Linked DNA regions of Homo sapiens: region 1 is linked to region 2. Evidence: promoter capture Hi-C in human tissues and cell types (Jung and others, 2019). All regions are on one chromosome and are shown on one strand. The core of a region is centred on a gene start or on the middle of the fragment in contact, and the rest is flanking DNA. Distances in the headings are between cores, read along the strand shown.

Region 1 (3,276 bases), core at 644-3,143, 540 kb before region 2:
TGGCTCCTGGTCACAGACTAAAGACTAAGCCCAATCATGGACTGAGCCCTGTATCTAGCCCTAGGCTACAGACTACTCAACTAAGGGCTGACCTAGACCCTGTCTGAGCCTGACCCCATCACAGACTAATCCCCAACCTTGGCCCCACTTGAGGAAGACTGCTGGCCTAAATTACATGCTGCCACATAAGAGGCATGGATTATGGGCAGAGATCTGTCTTGGGAGATCTTGGGCTTCTCATGCTGCTGATGCCACAGTGTTCCTTCCTGGTACTGTTATGGTCACAGTCTCCACCACTGGTTCCACTGGCTGGTTGGTCAACCCTCAGCAGCCCAAGCTGTGGCCTTTAGGGGCCACAGCATCCAGGCTAATGCAATGAGAGTGGTTTGGTGGCATCTGTCCAGCAAACAACCAGGGCCCATGGGGTACTGGGGTTTGGCTCTGTCAGCAGCAAGAACGACTCCGTGGGGCCTCTGGCTTCAGTTACTCTGAGGCCCTTGCTGGGGTAGGGGTTGGAGTAGAAGGAAATAGTGGGGTATGTCCCATTATTTTCGTAAATAAAGTTTACTGTTTGTGTTTAGGTAATCCATGCCCATTACACAAAACACAGAAGGAAAACATTTACCTATAATTTCATCCACCAAGAAATAATCGTTCTGACTTATTGGTTTGTTTCCTTATAGATATTTTTTGGTGGGGGCGGGGGTCTAGGCATATATATTTATATATACATGTTGTATATAATATGCATATATATTTATATACATGTTGTATATAATATGCATATATATTTATATACATGTATATTTACATATACGTGTTATATATTTTATATAGCTATATCTATTTTTTGAGATGGAGTCTCACTCTGTCGTCCAGGCTGGAGTGCAGTGGCATGATCTCAGCTCACTGAAACCTCCACCTCTGGTCCAAGCAATTCTCCTGCCTCAGCCTCCCGAGTAGCTGGGATTACAGACATGCACCACCATGCCCAGCTAATTTTGTATTTTTAGTAGAGACAGGGTTTTGCCTTGTTGACCAGGCTGGTCTTGAACTCCTGGACTCAAGTGATCCACATGCCTTGGCCTCCCAAGTGCTGGGATTACAGGCGTGAGCCACCAAGACTGGGCCTATACATGTTTTATAGAATTGGTTGGTTACTGTGTTGCTGCCACAATGTCCAGCAACACAGTAGGGTTAGGGTTAGGGTTAGGATCCTGTTAAGGTTGCAGCCCATCTCCTTCTTAACAGGAACTGGAATATGGTGGACCCCACCCTCAGCTTCAGGAATGGGTCCCAGTTGGTTAAGCCAGTAAGCAATTCCCATTTCCCCAGGCACATGATTAGATCACGAATGAACTAGCAAGATACAAGGAAATTTTTGCTCAGGGCTTTTGGGAAAGGAAGCTTATTTTCTCTCCTGAGGAGGCTGCCAAAAAAGATGATCTTCCTTCCATTAGATGTAAATGAAGAGGCCAATGGCTCTAGTTACTGCTGGCAGCCATCTTTACACCATGTAGAAAATTGGCCTACTGATAAACTGACATTATGGAAAGCAGAATGGAGAGACACCAGGCTTTGGTGACTTCATTAACTGGATCAAACTTCACCTGAAGCCCCACCTGCCATTGGACTTTTTTTTTCTTCTTTTTGAAATGGAGTCTCAATCTGTCGCCCAGGCTGGAGTACAGTGGCACGATCTTGGCTCACTGCAACCTCCGCCACCCAGGTTCAAGCGATTCTCCTGCCTCAGCCTCCCGAGTAGCTGGAGTTACAGGTGCCCACCGCTGCGTTTGGCTAATTTTTGTATTTTTAGTAGAGACGGGGTTTCGCCATGTTGGCCAGGCTGGTTTCAAACTCCTGACCTTAGGTGATCTGCCCGCCTCAGCCTCCCAAATTGCTGGGATTACAGGCGTCAGCCACTGTGCCTGTCCTGGACTTTTAAAATTATTTGAGCCAACAGAGTCCCTTTATTTATTTATTTATTTAGAGACTGAGTGTCGCTCTGGCACCCAGGCTGGAGTGCAGTGGCGCAATCTTGGCTCACTGAAACTTCCACCTCCCGGGCTCAAGCAATTCTCTTCCTCAGCCTCCTAAGTAGTTGGGATTACAGGTGTGCACCATCATGCCCAGCTAGTTTTTGTGTTTTTAGTAGAGAGGGGGTTTCACCATGATGGCCAGGCTGGTCTCCATCTCCTGACCTCAAGTGATCTGCCTATCTCGGCCTCCCAAAGTGCTGGGATTACAGGCATGAGCCACTGGGCCCAGCCCCTTTATTTTTATTATTTTTTGACACAGGGTCTTACTCACATTGCCCAGGCTAGAGTGCAGTGGTACGATCTTGGCTCACTGTATTATTTTTTATTTTTTATAGGAGATGGGGTCTCACTCTGTCTCCCAGGTTAGAGTGCAGTGGCATGATCATAGCTCACTGTAGTCTTGAACTCCTGGGCTCAAGCAGTCCTCCCACCTCAGCCTCTGGGGTAGCTGGGACTACAGGCACTGCCATGCCTGGCTAGATTTTAAATATCTTTTTTTAGAGATGGGTTCTCACTATGTTGTCCAGGATAGTTTGGAACTCTTGGCCTCAAGTTATCCTCCTGCCTCAGCCTCCTGAGTAGCTGGGTTTATAGACACAAGCCACCACAACCAGCTCCCTTTATTGTTTAAGCCAGTTTAAATTGGGGTTTCTATGACTTGCAGCCCACAGCATCACAACTCCCAATTGATATTACCAGATTACTGTTTTTGTTGCTTTTTTCTTGCTATTTAATACCATAACCACGAACATTCTCCATGTCATTCCATCTATGCTGCATCTTTTTTTTTTTTTTTGAGATAGAGTCTCACTCGCCCAGGCTGGAGTGCAGTGGTGCGATCTCAGCTCACTGCAACCTCTGCCTCCTGGGTTCAGGCAATTCTCTTGCCTTAGCCTCCCAAGTAGCTGAGATTACAGGCAGCCATCACCATGCCCAGCTAATTTTTATATTTTTAGTAGAGATGGGGCTTCACCATATTGGCCAGGCTGCTCTCAAACTCCTGACCTCAGGTGATCCGCCCACCTCGGCCTCCCAAAGTGCCGGGATTACAGGCGTGAGCCACCCACGCCCAGCCTGCTGCATCATTTTTAACAATTGCATGGTTTTCCATCCTATGGAGGTACACTCATTAATTTAACTCATCCCCTGCTGTGACATGCTTAGGTTATATCCCCAGTTCTTCACCACGATAAATGGTATTCTAATAAACAAGCTTGACCTAACAATCCTCTCTCTG
Region 2 (3,313 bases), core at 413-2,912:
AGGGTTCTGTGATAACTTTATAGTCTCAGACCTTATGGACTTGGTAATATCAGGTGTGTGGTAAGTACTTGGTAAACACCAACTGATTTATATCACTTCCTGCTGGACTCGGCCCAGAAGGTAAAAGCCAGAACCGGAAGGATCTGTGGGTCTGCGGTGAGGTCCTGCCCTCAGCTTGCCTTGGCGCGTTGGCAGAACCGCTGAGTACCTCCCAGCGTAGGATTCCGCAGCAGCTGCACTTACGGTCTGTGAGGCCTGCCTGACAGCTTCCCCGCTGACCTTGGCAGTGTCCCTGCTGACGCCCATTGGGATATGCCTTTGCCTGGAACCGCCAGTGCATCATGATGGAGCCAGGACCACAACCTGGGTCTCCCAGTGCTCACTCAGCCCCTCCCAGGACTCACTTCCCGGGGTGAGTGCTGTCGAGGGTTGGGGCCACGCTGAGGAAGTGTGGGTTTGGAATGGCTCTACTTTCCCTGAATCTAGGCACCTGAGGGCCTTGCCCTCTGCCTCTCACTGTTTGCTGGCTGTGTGGGCAGAGAATGTTTTTGTGGCAGTGGATGTAGGTCCAACCTGTGCAGGGGGAAGGCAAGAGCTTGGGCAGGCTCTGGCCTGGGGAGCAGAAAACCTAGGGCTCCCCCTCTCAGCTGGGACTGGCTGTGGGTGGAAGGAGAGGGCTGTGTGCCATTCCCACTCTGTCATGCACACGGCGATGGGAGGGAGTGAGGTTGCCTCCAGAGGCTGGGACAGAGGGTCAGGACCTCTGGAGCCAGAGCCTGCAGCCCCGGGAGACAACTCAGGCCTGTCTGGGGAACTGTGCATCCAGGGCCACACGGCTAGAGCGCAGGCCCATCAGATACGGAAAAATTCCTGGCAGCCATGCTGATGTGGAATTTTCCCCATTCCAGAATCGCCCAGTAATGGCGGGGGCAGTGGGGCTCTGACGCATCCCAGGCCCCACTGGGTGGCCAGCTGGTTCCTTACTGCCCACAGCTGGCGCTGAGGATTCCTGGCCCCTGGCAGGCATTGGTCCTCATCCATGGTCTTGCTCCTCTGGGGTGAAGAAGGAAAGGCCAGGCCTGGAAAATGAGACAGGGCCTGGATGGGACACCTGCCTCCTGGTGGCCTTGCTCAGCCCTCATTGGCACCCTAGAGAGTGACAGCTGAGACCTCCAGGTGACAGGACCAGTTGGAGCTCAGTCTCTTGCTTGAGCTCCCTCCACTCCCATGAGTGCCAAAAATGTGTCGTCCCCAGTTGGCACTGACTAGAGCAAGAAGCCGTATGATCCATTGGATCCTAAGGGCCCCAGGACCCCCCAACCAAAGTTAAGCAATAGTCCGTCCGCCGCCTTTTTCCCAGAGCCCTGGCTCCCCTCCCCACCACCACCAAGCCTGGGCATCCTCAAGTCTTCTGGGCTGGGGGCTCCGTTGAGCCAGAGGACCGGGGCGGGACAATGGCCCCGTTGGCGCGTCCGAGACAAACGGGCCTTGTTGGGCCGGCGGCGGGGGCGCAGCGTTGCGCCCCAGCGCGCTGAATGCGGCTTCTGTGCGTCTCGGGCGGGCGCAGAGGGGCCGGGATGGGGCGGGGAGGGGGCCGGCCCGGGGCGGGGAGGGGTCTGGGGTCCGGGGCGTCCATTGGCCCCGGCGCCGGAGGCTGGGCCAGGCTGGCGGCGGCACCTGGCCGGGAGCGGGCGCGGCGCGGGAGCGGGCGCGGCGCGGCAGCGGCGGCGGGGGCGGGGGCATGGACCAGGCCTGGTGGAGCGGGGGGCCCGGCCGGGTGCGCCCCGCCGCCCAGTGAGCGCCCGGGCGGCGCGGCCCGGGCCGAGCCAGCCACGCTGAGGCGGAGGAGGACGGGGACAAGGTACGTCCCGGGCTCCAGCACCCACTGCCAGCTTGAGCCCTGCCTCAGTCTACTCCCTGGGGATACCGCCCACATTACGCTAACCCCCAAACTGGGACCACGCGCCGGAGGAGGGGAGTAGGAGTGCAGTACCGCTGTTCTAAGCGCTGGGTACCCCTGCCCACTGCCAGAGGGTGGCCTGGTAGGGGCCAGGGAGGGCACAGGTTGGTGCCCCCCATGCCCTTGGTTTTTTCCCCTGTCCCCCAACCCCCCTTCCAGGGCTTCCCAGTCCCTGAAGGTGGGATGGGTGGGGCAGAAGGCAGGCTGCTGGGGCTGAGCTGGAGCTGGGAGTGCGTTAATGATTAATCTTGGACACAGTGGCCAGAGCCCTAGGGGAGGAGGGGCAGAGATCTCCCCTGTCTCCATCAGCCCTTCCTAGAAAGGGGATCAGAGCAGGAACCGGAGACCATAGTAAGGGATGGATCCCCTCTGCTGGGGGAAGGCCCTGGCCTGTACCCCAGAGGAAGCAAAGCCACCAAGGAGAGGTTTGGGAGAGTGGGACAAACCCTGGCATCCAGGAGGGGTCCTATAGGAAATCCTACAGTTCCTGTTTCCTAGCCCAGTGCCCAGGAAGGGGGTCCAGCTTGATCTGCCCCTTCGGTGCCAGGCCAGCATTTTGGTACCAGCACAGAGCACACTACAGACCGAGCCCTGCCCAGTGGGAACTGCCCCGCCCAGCTGCCCAGAGCCAGAGAGGTGATGGGCATGTCTGGCTGCTGTAACCCACACCAGGGGGAAGGAAAGGGAGAGAAGGCAGCATGCCTGACACCTGATCCCCGGGCTGCCGCGGTGACAGGTGCATGAGAATCCTCCAGAGGGGAGAGAGGTGTAGAGGACTGTCCATTCCAGTTGGGAAAACCCAATCTCTTCCTTTACTGACGGGGTGACCTGAGGCCCAGAGAGGGTGAGGCTCATCCAGGCCCACACAGGGGGCACAGGAGGGCAGTCCTGGACCAGAGCAGTCACTGTGTACGCACTGTTCCTTGTCCTGTGAAGGAGGCATTGCTACCTATCCCCATTATCCAGAGGGGGATACTGAGGCTCAGGGAAATTCAATGACTTGTCCAAGGTCACATGGCTCAGAGGTAGCTGAGCTGACTCCAAATCATAGGAGTCTTGCCCTGGCCCCCATTTCAGGACCCCAGCCCAACCCATGACCTCTCTCTGCTCCTTTGGGGTCCTGCCTTCTTGGATCTGCCTGGGCTGCCCCAAACCCTCAGCTCTGGACACCCCCCCTCGCCTCCCTGGCTCCCAGCTCCGCCTGACACTTCAGCGGGTGAGCAGGCTGCTACCCCGGGAGCCGAGACAACGAAGCCCTGTTCCCAGCTGCCACCTCAGCCTGCTTTATTCCCTGCTTGCTCAGGCAGAGCCCTTCCTGGAGGAAGCTCCTTGCGGACAGAGAATGCCTGGTCC

Evidence for each region. Contacts are between HindIII fragments. The study calls those that stand out against the background at their distance.
Region 1: a fragment that was not itself captured here is called in contact with the fragment with the promoter of GAL3ST1 in region 2 in 2 of the 25 tissues and cell types used here (dorsolateral prefrontal cortex and spleen).

What each region holds. Positions count from the first base shown.
Region 1 is chr22:31,115,235-31,118,510 of GRCh38, reverse strand. All of the region lies in intron 1 of LOC105372995 (a long non-coding RNA gene), which reads left to right. Among named protein-coding and RNA genes, the nearest start is that of INPP5J, 6.1 kb to the left of the region's middle. The HindIII fragment of the contact is 5,360 bases long and covers 1-3,276 here.
Region 2 is chr22:30,573,014-30,576,326 of GRCh38, reverse strand. GAL3ST1 (galactose-3-O-sulfotransferase 1) reads left to right here and starts at 1,662. Exons shown (of 4, transcript NM_001318104.2): 1 at 1,662-1,861. RefSeq lists enhancers at 1,742-2,422, 2,423-3,104. The HindIII fragment of the contact is 15,540 bases long and covers 1-3,313 here.